Linked DNA regions of Homo sapiens: all the other regions are linked to region 1. The links are contacts of gene promoters, found by promoter capture Hi-C in human tissues and cell types (Jung and others, 2019). All regions are on one chromosome and are shown on one strand. The core of a region is centred on a gene start or on the middle of the fragment in contact, and the rest is flanking DNA. Distances in the headings are between cores, read along the strand shown. Region 1 holds the start of LRP5 (LDL receptor related protein 5). Region 2 has its middle 17 kb from the start of KMT5B. Region 3 overlaps KMT5B (lysine methyltransferase 5B).

Evidence for each region. The method cuts DNA at HindIII sites, captures the fragments that hold promoters and counts their contacts. A contact is called where the count stands out against the background at its distance.
Region 2: a fragment that was not itself captured here is called in contact with the fragment with the promoter of LRP5 in region 1 in 2 of the 25 tissues and cell types used here (IMR-90 fibroblasts and small bowel).
Region 3: a contact is called between a fragment that was not itself captured here and the fragment with the promoter of LRP5 in region 1, in 2 of the 25 tissues and cell types used here (aorta and lymphoblastoid cells).

The regions. Positions count from the first base shown.
Region 1 is chr11:68,308,850-68,313,863 of GRCh38, forward strand. LRP5 (LDL receptor related protein 5) reads left to right here and starts at 3,742. Exons shown (of 23, transcript NM_002335.4): 1 at 3,742-3,956. The coding sequence starts at 3,866. LOC124900302 (a long non-coding RNA gene) reads left to right here and starts at 4,600. Exons shown (of 2, transcript XR_007062749.1): 1 at 4,600-5,014. RefSeq lists silencers at 3,367-3,656, 3,677-3,876, 4,067-4,226, 4,237-4,306 and enhancers at 3,728-4,603, 4,604-5,014. The HindIII fragment of the contact is 14,214 bases long and covers 1-5,014 here.
Region 2 is chr11:68,228,269-68,232,863 of GRCh38, forward strand. No RefSeq gene overlaps it. Among named protein-coding and RNA genes, the nearest start is that of KMT5B, 17 kb to the left of the region's middle. The HindIII fragment of the contact is 3,922 bases long and covers 846-4,595 here.
Region 3 is chr11:68,205,445-68,209,821 of GRCh38, forward strand. The region is part of intron 1 of KMT5B (lysine methyltransferase 5B); the gene reads right to left. Among named protein-coding and RNA genes, the nearest start is that of KMT5B, 5.7 kb to the right of the region's middle. RefSeq lists a silencer at 864-953. The HindIII fragment of the contact is 5,675 bases long and covers 1-4,377 here.

The DNA.
Region 1 (5,014 bases), core at 2,492-4,991:
GTGATTCTCCCGCCTCAGCCTCCCGAGTAGTTGGGATTACAGGCGCCCGCCACCAAGCCCAACTAATCAGCTAATTTTTTTTTTTTTTTTTTTTTTTTGAGACGGAGTCTAACTCTGTCGCCCAGGCTGGATGGAGTGCAGTGGCGCAATCTCGGCTCACTGCAAGCTCCGCCTCCCAGGTTCACGCCATTCTCCTGCCTCAGCCTCCCAAGTAGCTGGGACTACAGGTGCCCGCCACCACGCCCGGCTAATTTTTTGTATTTTAAGTAGAGATGGAGTTTCACCATGTTAGCCAGGATGGTCTCGATCTCCTGACCTCGTGATCCACCCACCTCGGCCTCCCAAAGTGCTGGGATTACAGGCATGAGCCACCTCATCTGGCCTTTTTTTTCTTTTTTTTAGAGACGGAGTCTTGCTCTGTCGCCCAAGCTGGAGCATAGTGGCTCAATCTCGGCTCACTGCAACCTCTGCCTCCTGGGTTCTAGCAACTCTCCTGCCTCAGCCTCCCGAGTAGCTGGGATTACAGGCACATGCTGCCATGCCCAGCTAATTTTTTGTATTTTTAGTAGAAACGGGGGTTTTACCATGTTGCCTAGGCTGGTCTTGAACTCCTGACCTCGTGATCCACCCTCCTCGGCCTCCCAAAGTGCTGGGATTATAGGTGTGAGTCACCGCATCCAGCCCATAGTCCCTTTCCTCTCTGGGAGTCTCTGGTGGCCCCTTCATAATGCTTTTTTTTTTTTTTTTTTAATTCTTGGTACATTTTCTATGTAATCATTTCAATAACTGACTGTCCAGTAGAGTCTTTAGTTTTTCTGTATCCCTTCCCAAATTTAGAAACCTGACTTGAACTTTGGGCCAGTTGTAATGTGTCCTCTATGACAGGCCATCCTGGGCCCCCTTCCCTTTGTTCCTGTGGCTGGAGCCCTGAGCAGGCCCCATCCACTTGAGTCCAAGAGGCCCTCTCTCCTGGCTGCTACCATTGTACCCACCTGCTGGCCAGGCCCCCACAGGGGCCTCTTTCCTCCTGACAGTCTCATCCCCACTCAGCAGCCAGAGTGCCTTCTTTATAAATGTAGATCAGATCCTTTCACTGTATTTGTTCATCCAACACACATTTACTGAGCACCTACTGTGTGCTAGGCCCTGGTACGGGCACAGGAAACACATCAGGGAATAAAACTACACTCTCTGCTCTCCTGGAGCTTCCATGCTAGTGGAGAGAAGAAAGATACGTAAACATGTAATGAGTCAGGTGGTGATGAGTACAAAGGAGAAAAGTAAAGCAGAGAAATGGAGTAGAAAGTGCTGGCAATAGTGGGTGGTGGTGGTGGGGGGTGTGGTTTGCAATTTTCAACAGGGGTCCTCAGGCCTGACTGAGGAGCTGAAGAGGTAAGAGAGTGAGCCACGAGGCTAAGTGGGGTGAAAGAGTTGGAGCAGAAAAGGTGGGAGGATCACCAGGCATGATGGCCCCTCTCTGTAGTCCTAACTACTAGAGACAGGCTCATGCCTGTCATCCCAGCACTTTGGGAGGCCGAGGCAGGTGGATCATCTGAGGCCAGGAGTTCAAGACCAGCCAGACCAACATGGTGAAACCCTGTCTCTACTAAAAATACAAAAATAAGCTGGGCGTGGTGGCACATGCCTGTAATCCCAGCTACTTGGGAGGCTGAGGCAGGAGAATTGCTTGAGCCTGGGAGGCAGAGGTTGTGGTGAGCCAAGATTGCCCCACTGCACTCCAGCCTGGGCAACAGAGTGAGATCCCATCTCAAAACAAAACAACAAAAGCTAACTACTTGAGAGGCTGAGGTGGGAGGATTGCTTGAGCCCAGGAGTTTGAGGTTGCAATGAGCTACGATCACACCACTACACTCCAGCCTGGGCCACAGAGTGAGACCCTGTCTCAAAAAAAAAAAAAAAAAAAAGAGTCCCAGCAGAGAACAGCAAGCACAAAGGCCCTGAGGCAGGAGTGCACCTGGTGTGTTTGAGAACCCACAGAGACACCACTGTGGCTGGAGCAGGGTGAGATGTGGGAAGGGAGTGGCTAAGGAAGCTGAGAGGTCAAGGAAGAAGTGTGGTTGGAGCAGGCCCTGCAGGTGCCGAAGGCTTTTGCTTCTTTCCTGAGATGGCAGCCCTCACGAGCCCTGGAGCTTCCCTGGCTGCCATGAGATCAGGTGGAAGGGGGTCGAGGCTGCAAGTGGGGACGCATGAGTGGGTGACAGGTGGCAGTAGTAGAAGTGTAAGAAGAGCTGGGAGTCTGGGTCTCTTCTATCTTGAAAATAGAACCCCAGGCTGTGCTGGTAGAGCTGGATGCAGGGTGGAAGAAGGGAAAATATTTTTGCTGCTTAAATCCTAGCCTGGCTTCCCATTGCTCGTGGGGTGCATTCTCGATTCCTCTTCCCCGCCTGAGGTCTGACATGTGCTGGCCCTGGCTGGCCTCTCCTGTACCTTCTACCACCAGCTCCAGCTCATGGCCTGATGTGGTTCCTCCCCCGAATCCAGCGACCAGGCTGCCCTCTGCCCCAGCGCCTCCTCCGTGGATGTCTGCTCTTCCTGAACTGCCCTCCCACCGGACGGCTGCTCCTTGGTAGCAGCTCAAGTGTCCTTCCTTCCCTAAGCCAGTTTCCCCAAACACTGCAGCACAACGCCCTTCATTTCTCATGGCATTCTTCATGGCCTGTCAATGGGGCTTTTGTTGTTTTAATTTTCCGTCTTCTTGTTTTTGTTGGTCTTCCTAGAATATAAACCCCATGAGGGCAGAGGCGTTCAGCCTGACTCCAGCCTGGCAAAGCTGTCACAAATCTGGAGGAACACACACGTTCACGGGCACTCAGTTCTGTGAGGTACTGCAAGCCCTCTCTGAACCTGCAAGGTGGCCATTGCTGTCCCCACTTTACAAAGGAGGAAAGAGTGCGCGGAGAGGTTCTACTTAGACCCGCCAAGGGCACAGTCGTTCTAGAAAGTAGCAGACTGGGAGTTCCAACTTGGGCTTGCTGGTTCCAGAGCCCCTTCTGTGCCCCTTCCAGGCTGTGCCTGGGTGAGATTCTTCTCCTACCAGCACGTCTTCTTCCTGGAGGGTTCAGTGGCTGAGCTGACACCGGTGGGCAAGAGGCCCTGGCGGGCTTGTTGAAGGACTCAAAGGTGGCGTCTGGGAGCCTGGCGGGACTTTCTCCCTGTCAGCCTAGAGGCACTTTTAGAGGAGTGTGTCTGTTTCGCAGTCTTCGTGTCTCATAATTCATAACTAAGGTAGAGGGTACACATTTAGTTTACAGTAAAACCTCAAACCCACCTCCACTCCCAGCCGGCCACTTCTCTCCCTGTTCCCTTCTCTGCCCTCCACAGGTGAGAACAAGTGTCCGGGGCCGCCCCGTGGGGCCCCAGGCTGCCCGCCCTGAAACTGCCTCGCTGTGTGCCCTTGGGCAACCCCGCCCTGCTCCGTGCCTCAGTTTCCCCACTCATAGAGGCTCCACAGGTGACACACCTGGCTCCGGGCCCCGATCGGCCGCCGGGCCCCGCGGGGCGGAAACCCCGCGCCAAGCCTCCCGGAGGCACCTCCAGGGCAGGGCGGGGAGCGCGGGGAGGGGCCGCGGGGACCTGCGCCGCTGGGGCCGCCTGGCCGCCGGCCGGCTCCGGGGGGCGCCCGCGGGAGGGCGCGGCCGGTGCGGGGGGCGCGGGTGGCGGCGGCGGGGGGCGGAGACGCGGCGCGGCTTCCGCTCCCGCGCGCCCAGCTCCCTCCTCCCCGTCGTCCTGGTCCGCGGCGCCCGAGGGGGGAGGCGGAGGCGCCGGGAGCCGCGCGAGGAGCCGCCGCCGCCGCGCCATGGAGCCCGAGTGAGCGCGGCGCGGGCCCGTCCGGCCGCCGGACAACATGGAGGCAGCGCCGCCCGGGCCGCCGTGGCCGCTGCTGCTGCTGCTGCTGCTGCTGCTGGCGCTGTGCGGCTGCCCGGCCCCCGCCGCGGGTAGGTGGGCGCAGGCCGGCCGGGGGCCGCGGGTTGCTCGGACAATGGCCCGGGCGGCCCCGCGGCCAAGTGCGCGGGCGCCGCCGCCGTCTCGGAAGCGACTTGGCGAGTTGGGAGCGAGTTGGGGCGCGCGCCCGGGATCCCCCTGCCGTCCCCGGCGTCCCCGCCACGCGCGGGCCCTTTGTCTCCCCACCCGGGCCCTCCCCGGGGACGCTGCGTCCCGGGCTGGCGAGGAGGGCGCCCGCTCCGCCAGGTGCGGCGCGGGCGGGTCCTCACCTGCCCGAGCCCGCGGGAAGCCGGGAGCCGAGCCGAGCCCGCGCTGGGCCCGTGTGGCCCGGGCCGGGCACCGAGCGGGGACTTGGGGCGCGGAGGCGGGCCTGGCCCGGGGAGCCGGTTCGCAAGCCTGTTTCCAGCGGCCGCGCGGCCGCCCCGCGTGCTCCGAGGACGGGCTGAAGTTGCAGCGAGAAAGTTCTGAGCCCGGGCGCGGGGCGGCCTGGCCGGTGGCGCTGCTCCTGTGAGCCGCGTGGCTGTGGGTTTCCAAGCGGACTGACACCTGCCAGGTGCCCGGGCGACCCGAATGCCCCGTGTGGCCGCCGGGTCCCCAGATAGTGTCCATCCCCGGGTCGGCTACGCGGAGGTGACGTGGTCCCAGATCGCGGGGCAGTGGGGGAGGCAGGCTTGTGCCTCAGTTGTACACTCCCGTGGGGAGAGGTAGGGCGGGGGAACTTTCTCTCCAACTTTTGGTGTTTCCCAGGGGGTGGAGTTGAGGTCAGGAGGACTCAGGAAACTTAAGCAGTCGTGAAACGCTACACATGTTCTTTTAATTTGGAGATTGCCATGTGGTTTTTCAAGCAAGCCTCTTGCTACCTAAATCATTCTCTTCGGATGTGCGTGTTTTGTTTTTCTGGAGTATGGCTGGCCAAGTGGCACGGCCGCAAGTGCCTGTGCACGCCGCGGCTCCTGTTCTGTTTGTGGCAGTTTAGCGGGGAGGACCTCGGGCCCCTTTGTCTGGGCCTCCTTAAGGCAAACAGCTGTCTCCCTGAATATTTCCAGTGTGA
Region 2 (4,595 bases), core at 1,557-4,056, 82 kb before region 1:
CGTCTCAAAAAAAAAAAAAAAAAGACACCTTATTTATTTATTATTATTATTATTTGAGACAGAGTCTCACTCTGTCGCCCAGGCTGGAGTGCAGTGTCACCATCTTGACTCACTGCAACCCCCATCTCCTGGATTCAAGTGATTCTCTTGCCTCAGCCTCCTGAGTAGGTGGGATTACAGGTGTGTGCCACAACACCAGCTAATTTTTGTATTTTTAGTAGAGACAGGGTTTCGCTATGTTGGCCAGGCTGGTCTCGAACTCCCGACCTCAGGTGATCCACATGCCTCGGCCTCCCAAAGTGCTGAGATTACAGGTGTGAGCCCCTGTGCCCGGCCTAAATACACCTTATTTAATACATATTGTTGATCCATTGACATTGACCCCACGTGGCCGTGGGGGTCAATGAGCGCTAAAACTCTGCCTGAATGAAGCTTATCTAACTCGGGCATTTTCTCCCAAAGGCACGCATAGCCTTCTCGATCATGGGAACACTAGACAGCCTCAGCACTGCACGGGGGCCATTTTGAATGGTGAAATCACCAACAAGAAGCACAAAACTGTGAAAAACATGACACTAAATAGACTGTGAAAAGGACACTTGTTTACGGGTCGGAGAGCTGAAACAGGGAGATGAGTGCTGACTGCTTCACCTCAGCGGGTGACTTTAGTCTCTGGAGACATCAATTTTTCACCACTCTGTGTATGCACCGGCTTTCAAATACCCACAGAAAGGCCCAAGTATTGATTTTGGGGTTACAAATAAATTTAGCTAGAGGTGAACCCACAAATACAGAATCCAAGAATAATGAAGATGATTTGAATCGTGAGGTTATGTTAGAAACACCCCACCTCTGCACCCCTGAGTACTTCAGTGTATATTTCCAAAATGGTTGTTCTCTTACATAATCACTTTTGTAGTTGTCAGAATCTGGAAACTCACCAGCAATACAATACTATAATTTGATACATGCTTTTCCCCCAGTCCAGCAGCCAGTCCAAGATCACAGGATGTGTTTAGTTGTCCTGTCTTTTGGTGCCTCAGTCTTGCTTTGCTTTTTGTGGTCTTGACTTGCAGAATGTCCTTCTGTGTGTGTTATCTGATGTTTCCTTGTGAGTAGATTCAAGTTGTGCGTTTGTGGCAAGAATATCCAGGGGTGATGTCTTCTCAGTGCATAAGGAGAGATGTACTGCTGTTATTTTGCTATTTGTCCTCTGTTTGCTTCCTAGCTTTTCTGGACCTCATTTCCTGCATTACAAGCTTTTTGGTGTGTTTGGTTTTTTTTTTTAATAGAAAAATGTTTGAATTTCTTCTCATTTTCTTCTGTGTATATTCTACAGCTATTTTCTTTGTTATTACAATGGGTATTACATTTAACATCTGTATTAGTCCATTCTCATGCTGCTAACAAAGACATACCCGAGACTGGGTAATTTATAAAGGAAAGAGGCTTAATTGACTCACACTTCACCATGGCTGGGGAGGCCTCAGGAAACTTACAGTCATGGGTGGAAGGGGAAGCAAACATGTCCTTCTTCACATGCCAACAGTAAGGAGAAGTGCTGAGCAAAAGGGGGAAAGTCCCCTTATAAAACCATCAGATCTCATGAGAACTCACTCACTATCATGAGAACAGCAACTTTGAGGTAATGACCCCCATGATTCAATTACTTTCCACCAGGCCCCTCCCATGACAAATGGGGATTGTAGGAACTACAATTCAAGATGATATTTGGGTGGGGACACAGCCAAACCATATCAACATCCTAAAGTTATAACACTCTGGTTTGAATTTATACCAGGTCAACTTCAGTATCGTATAAAAACTCTGCTCTTTTTACAGCTCCATCTCTTTTTCTTATGGTTGTTGATGTCATAAAATTATATCTTTAAACATTCTATGCCCCAAAACATAAACTGACAATGATTTTTAAAAAGTTAGTGTCTTAAATTATACAGCAAACAAAATGTGTAGTTACAAACCAGTTACAGTAATACTAGCGTTGGATTAGTTCTTGGTTTAACTAATCAATTAATTAATTTATTATTATACTGACTTTTAATTTATTTTATTTACTTATTTATTTATTTTGAGATGGAGTCTGTCTCACTCTTGTCACCCAGGCTGGAGTGCAGTGGCCCGATCTTGGCTCACAGAAACCTCCGCCTCCCAGGTTCAAGCGATTTTCCTGCCTTAGCCTCCCAAGTAGCTGGGATTACAGGCACCCACCACCATGCCTGGCTAATTTTTGTATTTTTAGTAGAGACAGGATTTTACCATGTTGGCCAGGCTGGTCTTGAACTCCTGACCTCAGATGATCTGCCTGCCTCGGCCTCCAAAAGTGCTGAGATTACAGATGTGAGCCACTGCACCCGGCCGATACTGATTGTTTTTTAAAGTGTAATAGTCTCTTAAATTCTGCAGAAAACCAAAAGTAGTTTTACAACCTACTGTTACAATAGTACTAGCTTTTATAATTGCACATATATTTGCCTCTATTGAGATCTTTACTTCTTCATACAGTTTCATGTTACTATCTAGTGTCCTTTCGTTTCACCTTCAGGACTCCCTTAAGCATATCTTGCAGAGCAGGTTTACTGGTTATGAACTTCTTGAGTTTTCTTCTTCGCTTTTTTTTTCTTTTTCTTTCTTCTTTTTGTTCAGAGACAGGGCCTCACTCTGTCACCCAGGATGGAGTACAGTAGCATGATCACAGTTCACTGCAACCTCAACCTCCTGGGCTCAAGCAATCCTCCTCCCTCAGCCTCCTGAGTAGCTAGGATTACAAACATGCATCACAACGCCTGACCTTTGATTTTGTAGAGATAGGGTCTCACTATGTTGCCCAGGCTGGTCTCAAAATCCTGGACTCAAGTGATCTTCCTGCCTTGTCCTCCAAAGTATTGGGATTATAGGTATGAGCTATTGTACCTGGCCCCTTTGGCTTTTCTTATATTTTTCTTTTATCTTCTTAAAAATATTATTTATGGGTTGGGTATGGTGGCTCATGCCTGTAATCCTAACACTCTGAGAGGCCAAAGTGGGCAGATTGCTTGAGCCCAGGAGTTGGAGACCACCCTGGACAACATGGAGAAACCCCACTCTACAAAAAAGAAAAAAAAAATTAGCTGGGCTTGGTGCATGTCTGTAGTCCCAGCTGTAGTCCTCAGGAGGCTGAGATGGGAGGATCACTTGAGCCCAGGAGGCTGAGGCTGTAGTGAGCTGTGATCATGCCGCTCCACTACAACCTGGGCGACACAGCAAGACCTTGTCTCAAAAAATTTTATATTATTGATTCCTTTCTTTTACAAACCCTTATCTTGAGGGCTGACTTTAAATAGATCACAGTGAGGGAGATACTCTGCTATGTACAAAATCCTGACCCAGAAGCAGGTTGTCTATGAATGGTTTAGTACCAGGTTCTCCGTGAATGTGCACTCCATGATGGGCCAGCGGGGACAGCCCATTTCTGGCCATACCCCATTTCACGGGTTGAGGAGTTCTCTGTACTGGACTCCGGTCCTGGCACCAGATGAGGCACTGGCAGCACGGTAAAGGACCAGCTATCTGAGGCCAACCAAGGCTCTGCAGTGCTATCATATCATTCTGCCTTCTGCCTGGGCGGAGTTTTGATTTAGAGGCATTCAGTCATAATCTCACGGATGGAAGCTTTGCTGCATTGGCTTTTCAGCCAAGCACATATTCTTCACTTTTGAAAGACAGTTTTATCCAATATAGGATTCTTGGTTGACAGGTTTTTTGTTTTTGTTTTTGTTTGTTTATTTTTTATTTTTTTGAGACCGAGTCTCACTCTGTCTCCAGGCTGGAGTGCAATGACATGATCTCAGCTCACTGCAACCTCTGCCTCCTGGGTTCAAGCGATTCTCCTGCCTCAGCCTCCTGGGTAGCTGGGATTACAGGTGCACACCACCAAGCCCTGCTAATTTTTGTATTTTTAGTAGATGGCATTTTGCCATGTTGGCCGGGATGGTCTCAATCTCTTGACCTCGTGATCTGCCCTCCTCAGCCTCCCAAAGTGCTGGGATTACAGGCGTGAGTCACCATGCCCGGCTGTTTTTTTTTTTCTTTTAATAGTTTGAAAATGTCTTGGGAGGCCGAGGCAGGCAGATCACAAGGTCAGGAGATTGAGACCATCCTGGCTAACATGGTGAAACCCCATCTCTACTAAAGATACAAAAATTTAGCCAGGCGTGGTAATGGGCGCCTGTATTCCCAGCTACTCAGAAGGCTGAGGCAGGAGAATGGCATGAACCTGGGAGGTGGAGCTTGCAGTGAGCCGAGATCAAGCCATTGCACTCCAGCCTGGGCGACAGAGCGAGACTCTGTCTCAAAAAAAAAGAAAGAACAAAAAAGAAAATGTCAGCCCACTGTCTTCTGGCCTGAAAAATTTCTAATGAGAAATCTGTTGAAAATCTTATTTAAGATCTTGGTATGTCACATGTCTCTTCTCTCTTGCTACTTTCAGCATTCTCTCTTTGTCTTTCAAAAGTTTAATTATTATTAATTATTATTATTATTATTATTTTGAGAAGGAGTTTTGCTCTTGTTGCCCAGGCTGGAGTGCAATGGTGGAA
Region 3 (4,377 bases), core at 1,353-3,852, 100 kb before region 1:
ACACACTTGCTAGGCCAGATAACCATGATCTTCCTGAATAGCATTGTAATTGAACATTTTTCTATTTATATTAAAACTTACAATAAAAACTGAAACTATTAGAATTTCTCATTGAGCAAAACATTTTAAGGAGCAAACTATCCACTACTGGTAAGTTTATGATCAGACATTCGCAATTCTTTTTTTTTTTTTTTCAGACGGAGTCTCACTCTGTCCACCAGGCTGGAGTGCAGTGGCATGATCTCAGCTCACTGCAAGCTCCACCTCCCGGGTTCAAGCCATTCTCCTGCCTCAGCCTCCTGAGTACCTGGGACTACAGACACCCGCCACCACAATTAGCTAACTTTTTGTATTTTTAGTACAGACAGGGTTTCACCGTGTTAGGCAGGATGGTCTCAATCTCCTGACCTCGAGATCCACCCACCTCGGCCTCCCAAAGTGCTGGGATTACAGGCGTGAGCCACCGCGCCCGGCCAGACGTTCGCAATTCTTAGACTTACTTATTTGGCTACTGATCTACAGCCAGACATGTAAGAAACTCCTAATTGCCTTATCACAGAAAATACTGCTTCATTCTTAAATATCACATTCAATACGTATTTACGACGAGGGATGTCATGTAAGAAAGACTTCATGTCTTCATCTCAGTAGTTATTTTAAAACAAAGGTTTTCACTGATGGGGTTGTTGAGGGAAAGTCCTCAAAAAAACTTCCAGAAGAAAACAAAAAATGCCTGCTTCCCCCATCTCTCCACATTTGATCCATCTGCTTACCTAGCAGTGCCTAGAAATAAAATCAAGGATGCTTTCTTTGTTACTGTTTTCTCTAGGACTCAAACAGCCATTCACGGTTCTAGAAACAGATGCCACCTAGTGTCAAATGACTGTAAGTACAGCCTTTACAGCCCACAGTTTCTGTCAGAAGTTACAAGAAGTACATCAAAGATTTTTACTGGGCAAGGACAAGTGTGAGGAAAAGCTTCCAAAAGGTGGTTCTTGGGCTGGACGTTAGAGGCCACTTTGAGTTTGCCAGCTGGTGGGCTTTGCAGAGGCAGCCCGCACAGGGATTAAGGATGTGGCTCTGCAGTCAAAGCACCTGTCCCACCCTAGCTTCATCCTTACCCCAGCAGTGTGAGCAGACGAGTTATTTAACTTCACCGATGCCCCACCAGTACAATGAAAAGAAGGCCTCCCTAGGTTTGGCACAAGATATTTTAAATGAGCACAAACTGCTAACAAATTAAGGTCTCCCCTTCCAAGTAACTAAGGCAAAAGTAAAGCAGGCCAGAAACATTCTTCACAAAACTTTAATCAAGTAGAAATTTCCCTTCTATTCCCCACCATAACTCACACATGAAAAAAAAAATCTCATCACCTCACCCATTTAAAAAAGAACAAATGTGCAAAAGAATAATTATGACACAAGGCTGAGCACCAGTTCTGCTTTCCCTACAGTTCCCAAAGAGAAGGAATGTAACTTCTGGCTGCAACACGCATGATTAAAAATCATGCCAAGCAGCAGGGCACAGTGGCTCACGTCTGTAATCCCAGCACTTTGGGAGGCTGAGGCGGGCGGATCACGAGGTCAGGAGATCGAGACCATCCTGGCTAACACGGTGAAACCCCGTCTCCACTAAAAATACAAAAAATTAGCCGGGCATGGTGGCGGCTGAGGCAGGAGAATGGTGTGAACCTGGGAGGCGGAGCTTGCAGTGAGCCAAGATTGCGCCACTGCACTCCAGCCTCGGCGACAGAGCGAGACTCCGTTTCAAAAAAAAAAAAAAAATCATGCCAAGCTACATCTCCCATCCTAAACATTCAGAGGGACCACAGACTGGACTACAGAGCTTCTTACAACACAGTTTAGTTTGTGGTGTACCTGGTCAAACAGATTATTTTCACACCCTATAAAAGAAGATACAAACATCACTGCCCTTTAACACACACTCAATACTATCATCCCCATTTTACAAATGAGAACAAAACTCAGAGAATTAGAAAAAAAACTGAAGTGAAGTCCAGGCTGAGAGACTGTGTACTGTTAATATCACACAAAAAAGCAACACAGGCCAGGCACGGTGGCTCACGCCTGTAATCCCAGCACTTTGGGAGGCCGAGGTGGGCGGATCACGAGGTCAAGAATTCGAGACCAGCCTGGCGAACATAGTGAAAATCCATTTCTACTAAAAATACAAAAATTAGCCAGGCATGGTGGCACCTGCCCGTAGTCCCAGCTACTCGGGAGGCTGAGGCAGGAGAATCGCTTGAACCCAGGAGGCAGAGGTTGTGGTGAACCAAGATCGTGCCACTGCACTCCAGCTTGGGCAACAGAGTGAGACTCCATCTCAAAAAAAAAAAAAAAACAAACCAAAAAACAACACAGAATAATGACCCAAACAAATTTTTTATTTTTTTAGACGCTGTCTCGCTCTATTGCCCAGGCTGGAGTGCAGTGGCACGATCTCTGCTCACTGCAACCTCTGCCTCCCAGGTTCAAGGAATTCTCTGTCTCAGCCTCCCGAGTAGCAGGAATTACAGGTGCCCACCACCACGCCCAGCTAATTTTTGTATTTTCAGTAGAGACAGCGTTTCACCATGTTGGCCAGGATGGTCTTGAACTCCTGACCACGTGATTCACCTGTCTCGGCCTCCCAAAGTGCTGAGGTTACAGGCGTGAGCCATCACGCCTGGCCCCAAACAAATTTTTAAACACACTTCGCCCAAGCCAGGCACGGTGGCTCACGCCTGTAATCCCAGCACTTTAGGAGGCCGAGGCGGGAGGGTCACGAGGTCAGGAGTTCAAGACCAGCCTGGCCAACATGGTGAAACCCCGTCTCTACTAAAAATACAAAAGTTAGCTAGGCGTGGTGGCATGTGGCTGTAATCCCAGCTACTCGGGAGGCTGAGGCAGGAGAATTGCATGAACCGGGACCTGGGAGGTGGAGGTTGCAATGAGCCAAGATCGCGCCACTGCACTCCAGCCTGGGCAACAGAGTGAGACTCTGTCTCCAAACAAACAAACAAAAAAACCACTGTGCCCCATATTTGAAGAGTAAAACTCTAGAGCAAAATAGACATCGTTCCTGACTGCATAGAGGTCAGAGCATACTATGGGAAGAGATGTAAGTAAGTATGTGGTTATCAATCTGATGCGAGCTGTAAGAAAAACAAACAGGATGTTAGGAGAGAGACTAATGTAAGAATGGACTTGAGATGGGATGATCAGGGAAATATAAATCAAAATTGTAAATATAAAAACAAGACCAGACATGGCAGCTCATCCTATAATCCCAGCACTTTGGGAGGCCAAGGCGAGATGATTGCTTGGGCCCAGGAGACTAAGGCTGCAGTGAACTGGGATTATGCCACTGCTCTCCAGCCTGGGAGGCTACAAGACCCTGTCTCAAAAACAAACAAACAAAAAATACCTTTTTTGGGTCAAAAGCCCTCCTGGTACTTATTTATATGCACCAAACAAATATTTGCTTTAAACCCTCCAGGACCCTGAATGACGTCTGGTTTTGTTTCCTTTCCAAGGGGGAAAGTGAAGGGGGGTTTCCTATGGTGCCACTGGCTCACTGGCTGAAGGATCAAGCCCCCTTTTACTTCTCAGTGAGGAAAGCTGCAGCTTCCTAAAATCAGATTGGTTTTCTTACTAAAAATATCTATTTCTCCATATGATGCAACATAAACATTGCCTCGAAAATAAAAATACTCCTCAGAGACCATTAAAATGTATCATACATTTCAACCGTGTTATACAAATCAGACAGGCAAAACAATTCATCGGGCCGACCTAGAATCCACTCAGTTCAACAAACTTATGAAGAACCTCCCAGAGCTGCCAGGCACTGTTCGTGGTGCTGGAATACTGGTCATGTCCAGGGAACACTAGAGGGCGTATGAGAGCTTCTACTTTCAGGAAAATCAGTCGTTGAGTCAGGGAAGAAAACCAAACAGATGCATAAGGGGAAAAAAAGTTAACAGGGTAGAAAAGTACAGACTAGGAAGCAGAATGACCCTTCACTGAATGGGCCTTTTGCGTAAGGCCTGAGAAGCAAGCCGAGTGCCATTAGAGATGTGCTGACCAGGCATTCCTATAAAGGTGGCACAAGGTAGAAACACAGGTGTCACAACACACACATTCGGTTTCTACTGGTTCCCCTAACATGCAGGACTCGGGATTCGCTAGCTCAGCAACCCTATCAGGTGAAACAGGTATTAGCACTACAACAAGGAGGCTAAAGCTCAGAAACAAATTGCTTTCCTAAACTCAAAGTGCTACTAAGTGGTAAGGGTGGGTCTAAAACCTTCATCTTTAAACTGCAGTCTGGGGTTTACTCCAGTGCTTGAGCCACGTGTACCACCTAGAGGTTTA